2 separate regions of the Homo sapiens genome follow, and region 2 is linked to region 1. Evidence: promoter capture Hi-C in 16 types of primary human blood cells and fetal thymus (Javierre and others, 2016). All regions are on one chromosome and are shown on one strand. Each heading gives the region's core, a stretch centred on a gene start or on the middle of the fragment in contact. The rest is flanking DNA. Distances are from core to core; before and after follow the strand shown.

Region 1 (6,340 bases), core at 25-2,524:
GCCGTTCACTCCATGTCGCTACCTCTACCTAATAACTTAAAATTTTTTATTTGTCTAATATTTTATTTCCACCTTTTTTTTTTTTTTTTGAGTCTTGCTCTGTTGCCCAGGCTGGAGTGCAGTGGCATGATCTCGGCTTACTGCAACCTCTGCCTCCTGGGTTCAAGCAATTCTCCTGTCTCAGCCTCCCAAGTAGCTGGGACTACAGGCGCACACCACCATGTCTGACTAATTTTTGTATTTTTAGTAGAGACAGGGTTTCTCCATATTGGTCAGGTCGGTCTCGAACTCCTCACCTCAGGTAATCCACCTGCCTTGGCCTTCCAAAGTTCTGGGATTACAGGCCTGAGCCACCACGCCCAGCCTCCATCTTGTTTTATAATTCCCTAAAGTTAATTGTTGTTAAATCAGGAGAGAAGTATTTTATGTAACATTTCTGTTTATCAGCCCAGCCCACCAACTGGAGTGCCCTGATTCCATAAGTTTGGCAAGTCACTTACCTTCTCTGGCTTTCCATTTCTGGTCACAGCTGGGAGAGGCTCTGAAGATCATCTAGCAAAGGAGCTCCCTCACTTTGCCTGTTTCTAGGCACTGAAAAGTACAGGCCACAAATATATTCAGTAAAATAAATCACTTGAGAAATTCAAACAGGCTAGAGGAGATATCCGCTATCATAGGAGATCGGGCAGAAAAGTTTCTTAAACATAAGAGTGAAATGACCTAAACTGAATTTCAATGAGATAAACAGCAGTTTACTAAGACAGGGCAACCCCACAGGGTGCTGTTTGGTCAGAATTGGCCCGAGGAGGTGAGACCCTGACCTACGAAGGCAGCAGGTGTCCGGGAAGCATGGTTAGCAGCAAGAGCTAGGGGAGGTGGCCGCCGATTACATAGAAGAAAGGAGGCAGGCAGGCGCTGATCCCAGGGGTTCTGGTAGAGGGGCAGGGAAACTACCGTTATTGGTCCTTCATGCAAACTTTAGGATTTTCATCCATGTGTGTATTGCTTGAAGATGCTGCATTGCAGAAAGTCTTCAACTTCTCCCATGACCGAGGCAGGTCTGATGAGAGTGCAAACAGTTAGTACTCGCCCAGCTGCGCGCCGAGGCCTCCTCCAGAATCCAGACCGCATCCCCGAAAGCCCGCCCTGCCCCGCACTTAGGCCCCGCCCCAACACGCCCGTCCCGATAACGAGGCTCCGCCCCCAAGAGCTCGCCCGCGCTCCCCCAGAGGAAACGGAAGTCGTATCTGTCCGGACGGAAGCAGGAAGCGGGAGCGTAGGGCCACGCCTGCGGCGCTGCTGGTTGAGGCTGTGTGGGTCGGGGACGGGCCGAGGCGATGGCGGAGAAGTTTGACCACCTAGAGGAGCACCTGGAGAAGTTCGTGGAGAACATTCGGCAGCTCGGCATCATCGTCAGTGACTTCCAGCCCAGCAGCCAGGCCGGGCTCAACCAAAAGCTGTGAGTGGCGGCCCGAGGCTGCCGGGGTCTCCCCAGGGCCTGGCCGGGAAGCGTGTGCTAGGGGAGCGGGGATCTAGGGAGCCCGAGCCGAGCCTGACCGCTACTCGTGCCCCGCCAGCCCTCTGGTCTGGTCCCGGAGCCCGGGGCGCCTTTCCTGGCTGTGTTCAGAGGGCGGGGCCCGCGCTCCAGCCTGTTGCCAAGAGCCAACCTCTTTGAGGCCCCTTTGGAGACGTCGTCATGGCCAGATGATATACTTTACGTTTCCCTATCAAGGGAATCATGCTTTCTCTTCTAGCGTCTCCCCTCTCATGTGTAACCCCCTCCCAGCCTTTTCCTCCTGGAGCCCTTCTGGGAATTCAGTCCCTGTCTCCAGAGGGGAGGCAGGCTCCACAGTGAGTGCACGCCCTAAACTAGGCCTCAGAAGGTGAGGCTCCGAAGCCACCTGCCGCATAGGCCTGACAGTGGAGGAAATAGCGGGGAGGTGGTGCTGAGAAAGGTTGCAGAACGTTTATTATTATTATTTCTTGGCAACAGCCTTGTGCTGCCCATGTTGCTAGGCCCTGGGTTGGAGAAAAGGCAAATGCAAGTACAGCACTTTCGAGAAGGGCTTTATATGTGGCACGGACATAGAAAATGTTGCACTCGAGGTTCCATACCTAGTGCTGTGGGAATAGCCAGACCAGCCTGATGCTGTAGGAAGGCTCCAGAGAGGAGAGGAAGCTAAACCAGACAGTATGGCTTTCTTTCCCTCAGACTTTGAGTATAGTCCGCTGCCTCATGTGTTCGCTGAAACCGCACACACAGTCATATGCACAGTCAGGTAATTGTTTTTGAGAGAAGGTTCATATTTTTCATCAGGTTCCCTCTCCATCCCCCTTACTGGCAATTTCTAGTTGAGAAGGAAAGTAACAAATATTTAAGGGTATTTTGTAACTCTAACGGTGTCCTAGGAATCCTGTAGCTAACCAAAGAGGTCAGAACCGTGTGTAACCCGCATAGCTGTGAGGAGAACGAACTTGCGTGGAGCCCCGGTTGGCTGGGTAGCTCTGTGGGTGGTGCTTATGCTGTCAAGCGAAATTAACCAGATGCCTGTGTGTTTGCCTTTCCCCCAGGAATTTTATTGTTACTGGCTTACAGGATATTGACAAGTGCAGACAGCAGCTTCATGATATTACTGTACCGTTAGAAGTTTTTGAGTAAGTAACATTCTTGATATTAGTCTTGGGTATAAATCTTGTTCAGTTATGGTGTGGTATCGTGACTTCTTCATCACTGGCATTCGAGTGCCTGCTGTGTGGTAGGCACAGCCTGGGTGCTGGGGATGTGCCAGTGGAAAAAAAAATAGACAAAAATACAAAAATACCTGCCCTTATGGAACTTCCGTTCTAATGGCATTACAAAACGAAAAAAAAGAATATCCTTAATATTCTATTGTGGAAAAAAAGTTACATGTAAATAAAAGCTTATTAAATATATGAAATACATCATAGGTCCTCAAAGCCCTGCTTAGGCTAAAGAACAGCCACAAAACTTTCTTTTTTCCTTAAGAGGTGAAAAGTCCTATGAGGGCTATATTGTAAATTTTTAAAAAATGGCAGCCAGAAGCACCTGAAAAGCAAGCTGGTCTGATGTTCCCAAACTGCCCGTGGAGTGCTAGTTCTGAGAGGTGAAAATATCTGCTCTGTCGAAGGAGGAAAGAAAGGGTTCTTATTCCAAGTATGTTTGGGGAGGCTGCTCACTGTTTTCTGTGCGAGAGTTGTGTGCACCTATGTTAGTAATAGTCCTGAGAACACATACAGGAATGAGCTTTTAGATTTTTAAAATCCAGGTTTTCTTGCATTGATTTGGTCACATCTCTGATTTCACACATGAAGGACCTGATAAGTAACTGCAATAGGTTGTTTACCTAGTAAGTGTCAGAGTTAAGACGAAACCCCCGGACTCATACTTTCTTGACCAGTGCAAAGCAGCCTCTCCCTGATGGTGCTGGCTTGGAACAGCAAGAACATTCTAGTATTTCTTGCAGCAAAACTGCAAATGTAAATCACTAGATTTCGTTAAGCAGTAAAGGGAAAGAGTTATGGCTGTTTTCCATCCCAAAAGGTCAGAGATACAAGTTCTAGCTATAGTGCAGCAGCTGCCTACAAAGACAGGACACAGAGGTGGTTTTCTTGGTCTCTGATCTTCTGTTCACCTGCTGATGACTTTGCCCCATGTTCCTTACCTGTGCTCAGTGGGCACCACTGAGGTCTCTGACTTCAGGTGGGACGAAGGTCTTGCACCTCAGGTAGCTCCAGACTCAGCTTTGGCTTTCTCAGTCCAGGAATACAGAGCATCCTCCTTTGTGCTCTTCTGATTATGAATGCAGGGGATGCATATAGTGACAAGTGGCAAGTAACTACTTGTGTCTTCTGAAGCAGAACAAATGGAGACTGATGTGAACAGACTGCTTAAGGGCCGAGGGAAGTGCTGGGCACGGGGATGGATGAGATTGACCTGGGGTATCAGGAAGAGTATGCCAGTGAGCCCTAATACAGAGCAGATGCTGGGAGTTTATCTGCAAATCGGTGGTTGGTGTCTACCCAATGTAGAAGGAATTTCCAGGTCCCAGTGGCCTTTGCAGCGTGTACATTTTCATACACACCAACTGTGTCTTTAGCTAAGGTGAAAGCAGCTTGGCCCTTGTCTCCAGGACTTTGTGTGTGGGCAGGAGTGGGTTCACCCTTCGGTCTTCAAAGAACCAAGTCTGAGCAGGATGTCCATGCTGTTGAAGAAACGACCGTCAGCTGACATGGTTAACCTTATTCTGTGAGCCTGTCAGGTTTTTCTTGAGAAATGGATAGATTTTGTTTAGAATTAACCATAATTTTGCCACATTACATTATTTCAAAAACACTGAAATGAAATAGAATTTCTAGAACTTGTGATGTTTTTATCTTTTGCTATCTATCAAGGCTACTTTTTATACCATTAGTAGTAACCTAATGATATCTTGTTCTGAAGTGATTATATATTTTTGGCCTCAATTATAAAATTCGAAAGTAGAGTTAGTTTTCAGTTTTTGTTTTTTGTTTTTTAAATAATGAATGATTCAGTTTAGTTGAATGATAAGGATTTCTTTAGGGTACAGAAAAAGGTAGGTGGCCTGCTCTTGGTAAAATATAGGTATTGATCTAGGCAGTATGTTTAATTAAATCTTCAGGATACTGAAGATAATTTCTGGGGGAAGTGTCAGAAATTCTAAGTAACAGTTTTATACTGTTTAGAAATAATTGGCCAGAATGTCTCTGTTATATTTAAGTTACCTAGGTGTATTTAGTAAAGTGGTATATCAAGCCGCCTCTTCTTTTTAAAGCAGTGGAATGGTTTGTAAAAGGATCTTGGGGTCGTCAGGGCTGGGGCTCTTGTGCTTGTAGTTCTCCTTTCCTTTCCCCTGAAGCTCCTCCACAGAGGAGGAGGGGCTTTGCCAAGCAGCAGGGCTGACCTAGAATGGAGGCTGCATCGTGGAAGGATCCGCCTATGTCACCCAGGCCCGAACCCCTGGATCTCATTTAGTTTTTTCTTTTGTCAAGAGTTGCCTTACCATACAAGCTGCTGTAAGGATCAAAAAGGTAATAAATAGCATGAACGAATTTTGAAAAGTGCAAATGCTAAACACATGTAAAGTGGTATGGCTTGTGAAGCGTGCTTGGGTTTATCAGTGATCATTACTTGATTTTATGAGCTGTTCGTATTATCAGAAGTAATGAAATCAGATGATCTGTACTTGTGTAAATGAGGGAATATTAATTCCCCTGGTTCCTACACTGAGTTTTGTCTAAACAAGGCCGTGTGCAGTTATATATACCTAACCTTTATTCCCCCATACCTTTCAGAAAGCTGTGAGAATAGGTGTCAGTCATGAGAATGCTAATTGAAATATATCGTGTTTCCAGATATATAGATCAAGGTCGAAATCCCCAGCTCTACACCAAAGAGTGCCTGGAGAGGGCTCTAGCTAAAAATGAGCAAGTTAAAGGCAAGATCGACACCATGAAGGTAAGACTCTAAGGAGTGTCAGAAATACAGTGGGAAGAGATGCCTTCTCAGTGGAATTTGGTTAAGAGACTCATTTTTTTCCATACTTGCTAGAATATTGACTTTCATAACTTCACATATTGAGATTTCTGAATTGTGTAATAGGCAGTAAGTAAAATTAGATATCAGCTGCGTAATAGCATAAAAAACATACACTAATCTTACTCTTAAGGAAATCCAGAGTAATTTTTGTGATAGTAGTTCTCACTGGCTGTGATCATTTTCATTTTTTTAAGATGCACTTTTATTGCATTGATACTTTCTATTTCTGTAGTAATTCCTACTGTTGAAGGCTTTCCCTGTAGTCATGGTTCTTTGTTTTAGAGGATTCTTGAATATTGATTTTTCTCTTTGTCCAGCTTCTGACCTCCAAACTTCTTTTTACCATATCCATTGTCATGAAATTCCCCAGATCACTTAGTTTTTCTTTGCCTTGATGAGATGTAGAGAACTCTCTGCACTTGAACATGAAATATGTAATTTTTTCTTAAATTGACTCAAATGTAGTTCAAATTGGTGTTTTGTTTCTTTATTTGGACTTAACGGCCACTCATTTCTGTTGGCGCCATGCGACTGTTGCCGTGTGCAGCAGGGACCTCTGCCTTCCTCTCCTCCCAGCTCACAATAGGTGCCTCTTCCTCCTCCCGGCCATCCACGCCGGCCTGGTTTTCGGTTCTGGAATACATCCAACCCTTTCGTTCGTGTTCTTTTCTCCTGTCATCTTCTCCGCCTGGAGCTCTTCCATGTTCTCTTTGCACAAGCGACTCTATCCTTCCAGTTTCAGATGATTTCACCTCCTCAAAG
Region 2 (6,027 bases), core at 2,991-5,490, 4.4 Mb before region 1:
TCAGGCTCCTCTCCCCTGTAAAGGGCGTGAACTTCTGTGGCTCCACCCCATCTTCCGGTGTGCAGGTAGTCAGAGTTTCTCTGCGGACCCCTTTATGCTTGGCTGTCTCAGTGGGAGTGGCTAACACAAAGTCCCAAGGGGAAGAATTGGCTTGTCCTGCTAGAGGAACCTCAGAAAGGCCAGTGTGGCCAGAGGAGCCAAGAGGGAGGAGCTCACAACTGGGCAGGACCCCCATCATGCAGGGTCTGGTAGGCCATGTGTGCTAGGGGTTGCATTTGGCTGCCCATGAAGACACCAACCACAAGGACTTTATTTAATAGAAATTTGTTTCCCACACAACAAAAAAGTCTGGACGAGGAGTCCACAGCTCTGAAGCGCCTCCATGGACCCTCAGATTCCCACATGCCTTTGACCTTCCTGCTCTGTCACCTTTAGCTTGTGATTTTCATGCCTTTGATTGCCTCACAGTTGCGATATGATTGTTCTACCTTTGGCCTTCTGTCTGAATTCAAGGTGGTACAAATGATGTCACCAGGAGGAAGGGGTGTCCCCATATTAAGAATGTAAATTTTCCCCAAAACACCCCAGCAGATTTCCATGGTCAAAACTGTGTCACTTGGCTACCCCTAGCTACAAGGGAAGCTGAAAAATAAATGTCTTTTTTTTGCGAAGTTCACTACCTTCTTAACAGTATTTCCTTCATTAGAAATGCTATTGAGTAGACAGATTATTCCACACTGTAATGAGTAGCTTGGATTGTATTCTAGAGGAGAAGCTATTTGCCGATAGGTGGGAAATCAAGAGTTCTTTGAAGATGTAAAATTAACTTGGCTGTCACACTGTCAGGAGCAGAATGTACCTGAATCACGTAGCACCCAAATATAATACGTTAGTGGCAGTGAATCTGTACAGGTCTGCAGCAACCTCAATTCTTGCCTCTTCAGAAGGAAGAATTCAACTGAGGGGTATAAAGCAGAAAGAGAGACTGAGGCAACTTTAAAGGAGGAGTGAAAGTTTATTAAAAAGCTTTAGATCTGGAACAAAAGGAAAGTACACTTGGAAGATGGCCAAGCAGGTAACTTTAGAGATCAAGTGCACGGTTTGACCTTTGACTTAGGGTTTTATACATTGGCATACTTCTGGAGTCTTGCATCCCTTGATTCTTCAGGGATCAGTCTTATCCCCTGATTCTTCCCTTGGGGTAGGCTGTCCACATGCACAGTGACTTGCCAGCGCTTGGAAAGTGAGCAGGGGCAGTGTGTTTATTGGAAGTGTACACATGCTCACTTGAGGCAATCTTCCCTTACCAGCCTCATGTTCCTAGAAGGTCATATACCAGTCAAACGTTGCCATTTTGCCTCTCGATGTGTGGCAAAGAGATCTTACCAGGAAGCTGCTGACCACCACTTTCAGGTTTTTTCTATCTACTGGGAGACTGCCTTTCCCTGGCACTGACTGCAACCAATTATTATTTTAGAGAAACAGTGTAACAACTTCCTGACCATCACCTGATGGTCACACAACATTTCTGGTGGTGTGGGTTGTGGGGGAAGAGTCCTCTCCTGCCCTGCTCAGGCCGACTAGCTACCTACTGTAAGACAACCAGAGTTTCCCAATCAGTACAAACCTGGAGAACAGGTCACAGGCAAAGAGACACAACCTGTCAGACCTCAGGGCAGTCCAGGGGCCACCAGGGCCCCTCTGGAGCTCTGCTCCTTCCTGTGAAGGCTTTCTCCCCCACCCCCCAGGGTTCCTTACCAATAGCATTTGTTATTGAGTCTAAGATGCTGTGGCTCGTAACATGCAACTTTGTTTTAGGTACCACTAAGGGTAAAAACACTACCAATTAAATGATACCACAATGTGCTCTTTCAACTTAAAATTTTCATTTTATACTTCCAAGAAATAATTCTTTAGGCTTAAGACATACGACATAAGTTTTTAACTATATAGCACTTTTGCACATACATAAAAAGGAAGTTACTCATGAAATTAATCAGTTAGGTATCCTTAAACCTTTAAGAACGTGAGTGATGTGCTATCTCTTTAAAGAGTAACCCAGTATTAATTTCAGGATTCTCTTCTAAACTGCTGGCACCCACTTGGAAGTTTGGATGTGAATGCAAGACAATGGCAAGCATATCATGACTGCAGCCTGGCCAACAATTATCCTATTACCGGTGTTGAAATGTGTGTATGGAGTGGGGAATGCAAGACCAATGTATGCTATGTGCATCTCCATGTGTGCCCTGATGCACAGAGTTGCGCAGCACTGAGTTAGACAACAAATAGAGAAGCCAAGGTGGCGGTGGTGAGTTTGGAGTTCAGTGGAGGGGCAGAAAGAGAGAAATTAAGTTGCAGATGTGGCACCCATAAGCGTCTGCAGGTGGTGGTGGTGGTGAGTCTGGAGTTCAGGGGAGGAGCAGAAATAGAGAAATGAGGTTGCAGATTTGGCACCTGTAAGCATCTGCATGATAGTCGTCCACAGGCTGCATGTGACTATCTATGGGAAGTCTAGATAGAGAAGAAGGCCAATGCTGAGCCTTGCGATACTCAAATGTTTATAAATCTAGAAGAGGGCGAACTGCCAAGCTGACAGAGTGAGCAGCCAGGGTGGCCAGAGAACTGGAGGGTAAGGCAGTGATGTGGCACCTCCGGAGCAAAGGAGGAGGGGGACGGCCAGCTGCATCAAGTGCTGCTAAGAGCTCAAATAGAATGAAAGTAGAAAATGACCATTGGATCTGGCAGCACATAGGTTATAAGTGACTTCCACAAAAGGACCTCCCATGGTTGAGGGCAGTGCAGCAGAACTTGATGAAAACCAGACAAACTGGACTGGAGGGAGTGACAAGAGATGAGGAGCTCAGCCTCCCTGAACAGTTTTGTTGTCAAAGGGAAAAGTACAGCCAAGCGAGGGGTGGTGTTTCCTTCGCTAAAGAGATTAGGCCTGTCTGAATGCGAATCCAGCAAGGCATTGCGGAAGTTAACAGCAGTTGCAAAACACTGGGGCAGGCGGGAAGAACACGATCCAAGGCACGAGAGCCAGGGGTCAGCCACGGCAACAGGAAGATGATGGTGAAAACCAAAAGTTTCTGAGAGTGGTCTCAATTTAGGAAGTTTATTTTGCCAAGGTTAAGGACGTGCATTGACACAACCTCAGGAGGTTCTGATGACATGTGCCCAGGGTGGCCAGGAAACATCTTGGTTTTATACATTTGAGGGAGACATGAGACATCAATCAATACGTAAGATGTAGGTTGGCTCTTTAGGAGGTAAAATGTGAAGTGGAGGCGTCCGGGTCATAGGTACATTTAAAGGTTTTCTGATTGGCAACTGGTTGAGAGTTATCATCTAAAGACCTGGACTCAGTAGAAGGGAATGTCCGGGTTGCATGAAGGAGTTGTGGAGACCAAGGTGTTATCATGCAGATGAAGCCGGGAATACACTGCAAATGTTTCTTATCAGAGTCCTCTATTAGTCTTAGGGTCTCCGTGCGGATGTTTGTGAGGCCATGTTTGACTTCCGCTTCCCATCAAGGCCTGAACTAGTTTTTCAAGATAACTTAGAAGGCCACAGGCGGAGGGGAGGGTCCATCCGTTGGCTGCAGGGCTTAGAATTTTATTTTTGGTTCATAACGAGGAGGGCAGGGACAGAAGCCACCGTCTCTGCTCCCCAGCGCTGGCCCTCACTCGGAAAGCAGGCTCTCCCCTCGCATCGTCTTTTAACAAATTCCTGCTCTCTCGGCCCCCGTCGCTGCCATCTGGGCTCTCCTTTCCGCGCTTCATTAGGCGCTGCCGCGGCAGGGGCTGAGGGCCTCAGGGGACGGTCGCCTCCCTGCCGGGACGCCCCGGCCCTGGCCCGCACTGTGGGGCGCAGTCACCCAGCCGTCGCCGCGTAGCCAGGAGCCCGGCTGAGCGCGTTCGCTGCAGGAGCCATCCTCAGCTGGGCCCTACTTAACTTTCCGCAACTCCAGTCCCCGCAGCCAGTCGGGGACCCCGCCTCCCTCTCCTTCCTTCTCCCTCTCACTTCTTCACCCCTTCTCTCCCCTCCCTCCTCCGCCCCCGCCCCCGCCCCCGCCCCCGCCCCCGGCCACAGCATCCGACGTGGCGCGGCCGGCTGCGCACGCACCGTATGCTTGGCTCGCGGCCCAGCAGGGCGGGCGGGCCGCGGTGACGTCAGTGCGCATGCCGTCGGTGGGCTCGGCTGCGCCACGTCGGCGCGCGGCGGCCGCGCCCCCTTAACGGCAGTGGCACTCACCCGGCTCGCGCGGCCCCGGCGCCCCACGCGCGCGCGTCGTTCTCCCGCCCGCTCGCTCCCCGGCGCTCACACCTGAGCTCACTCGCGCACGCCCGCCCGGCCCGAGAACCGCGCCGCCGCCTCGGCCCCGCGGAAGCCCCGCCGCGTCATGTCTTCGCCTCCCGAAGGGAAACTAGAGACTAAAGCTGGACACCCGCCCGCCGGTACTGACTCTTTTCCTCTCTCTCCACGCGCGGGTGCCGGGGGCGGGCTCGAACCCGGGGGCGCCGGGCGGGGGCTCCGCGGGGAGGGCCCCGGCGAGCGCTGAGACGGGTTCCGGGCCTTGATGCCCGCCCGAGGGGCGCGGGCCGCGGAGAGGTCGGGCGCCCAGGCCCGGGAGGAGCCCGCCGGAGCTTCGGCCCCGCTTGCCGGCGGCGGCGAAGCGTTTCTTCCTGAGGACCGCGGGCGGCCGCGTACCTGTGCGATTGCGCGCAGGCTCCGGTGCCTTGGGCGAACCCAGTTGCACAACTTATAACAAAGTTTTGGCGGATAATATTTACTTAGAGGATACAGATGTCTAGAAAGAAAGTAGCAGAAGCAATGAAAAGTCAGTGGTGTTAATATCATGGTGATGATTAATTAGAGGCTGCCAGCGTTTCATACCGACTCAAGAACCAAGGAGCGGAAATAATTTTTATCATTAATCACTCAATATGACTTTCACCGCCAGTTTCTTCCACATCCAGATTTTTTTTTTCCCCCAAAGTTGCTTTTTCTGATTTTGAGCAAATCCTAAACTTCTGAGCCAAGGAAGTTAAAGCCAGGAAAGAGCGGTCTTTCTTAGAACATAGGGATCTAAGCAGCCTTCATGCTTCTGCCACCTCCTCCTCTCTCTGGGCACAGTTCCTGTTTGCACTTTGGATTCTGTCCAGACGGGTCTGTTTCCGTTTCTACTCTCCTTTCCAGTGGCAGTCGGCCCATATGGAGGGACACTGGTGAGAAGATCAAAGGCCTTGGGTCTCAGAAGCCAAGTCACTTCAATGTATGGATGCGTGAGGTTCTTTTAGGTCTTAATAGCACGCCTTAGTGTCATAAACTCAGTCTTGTAGGAACAGAAGTCTTTGAGAAACATGGCTTCTTTTGGTGGCACATTTGCGCCATTTTCTTGACAATAAAGATTCCTGGCCAGGCGCGGTGGCTCATGCCTGTAACCCCAGCAGTTTGGGAGGCCAAGGAGGGTGGATCACTTGAGGTCAGGAGTTCAAGACTAGCCTGGATAACATGGTGAAACCCCATCTCTACTAAAAGTAGAAAAATTAGCTGGGCATGGTGGCGGGCGCCTGTAATCCCAGCTATTCAGGAGGCCGAGGCAGGAGAATGGCTTGAACCCGGGAGGCAGAAGTTGTAGTGAGCCAAGATTGAGCCAAAGCACTCCAGCCTTGGCGACAAAGCGAGCGAGACTCCATCTCAAAAAAAAAAAAAAAAAAAAAAAAGATTCCCATTATCCTTCTCTGCTGTCCTCCGCTATAGGGCGGGAATTCTCTGCACCAGCACAATGAATAGGAGCCGTTCTTTAAATATGTTGCAGTCCAGAGTAGGCAATATTTTTCAGTGGTGACGGAGGCTCTCTACAACAAAACTAACTGGCACTGGGAAAGAAAAATGTCTAACTGATGCCAGAGAACTTAAGAGGCATGGGGTTTTAGAAAATCATTCCACTGTGATGGAAAATGGTTTTGGGGGAATTTGTGTTGCATTGGTTTTAAGAAAAAAAGTACTTCAAAGGGAGTT

What was found. Contacts are between HindIII fragments. The CHiCAGO score rates a contact against its expected background, and 5 or more counts as called.
Region 2: a contact is called between the fragment with the promoter of DAP here and the fragment with the promoter of MED10 in region 1, in 4 of 17 cell types (non-activated CD4 T cells, naive CD8 T cells, naive CD4 T cells and 1 more). The highest score is 10.9, in non-activated CD4 T cells.

Annotation. Positions count from the first base shown.
Region 1 is chr5:6,373,481-6,379,820 of GRCh38, reverse strand. MED10 (mediator complex subunit 10) reads left to right here and starts at 1,274. Exons shown (of 4, transcript NM_032286.3): 1 at 1,274-1,459; 2 at 2,572-2,655; 3 at 5,395-5,497. The coding sequence starts at 1,338. RefSeq lists enhancers at 820-1,039, 1,330-1,539. The HindIII fragment of the contact is 6,030 bases long and covers 1-2,923 here.
Region 2 is chr5:10,759,447-10,765,473 of GRCh38, reverse strand. It overlaps DAP (death associated protein), which reads left to right and starts at 4,240. Exons shown (of 4, transcript NM_004394.3): 1 at 4,240-4,460. The coding sequence starts at 4,406. DAP-DT (DAP divergent transcript) reads right to left here and starts at 4,438. Exons shown (of 3, transcript NR_187555.1): 1 at 4,258-4,438. RefSeq lists silencers at 3,705-4,174, 4,255-4,684 and an enhancer at 3,337-4,182. The HindIII fragment of the contact is 9,246 bases long and covers 1,029-6,027 here.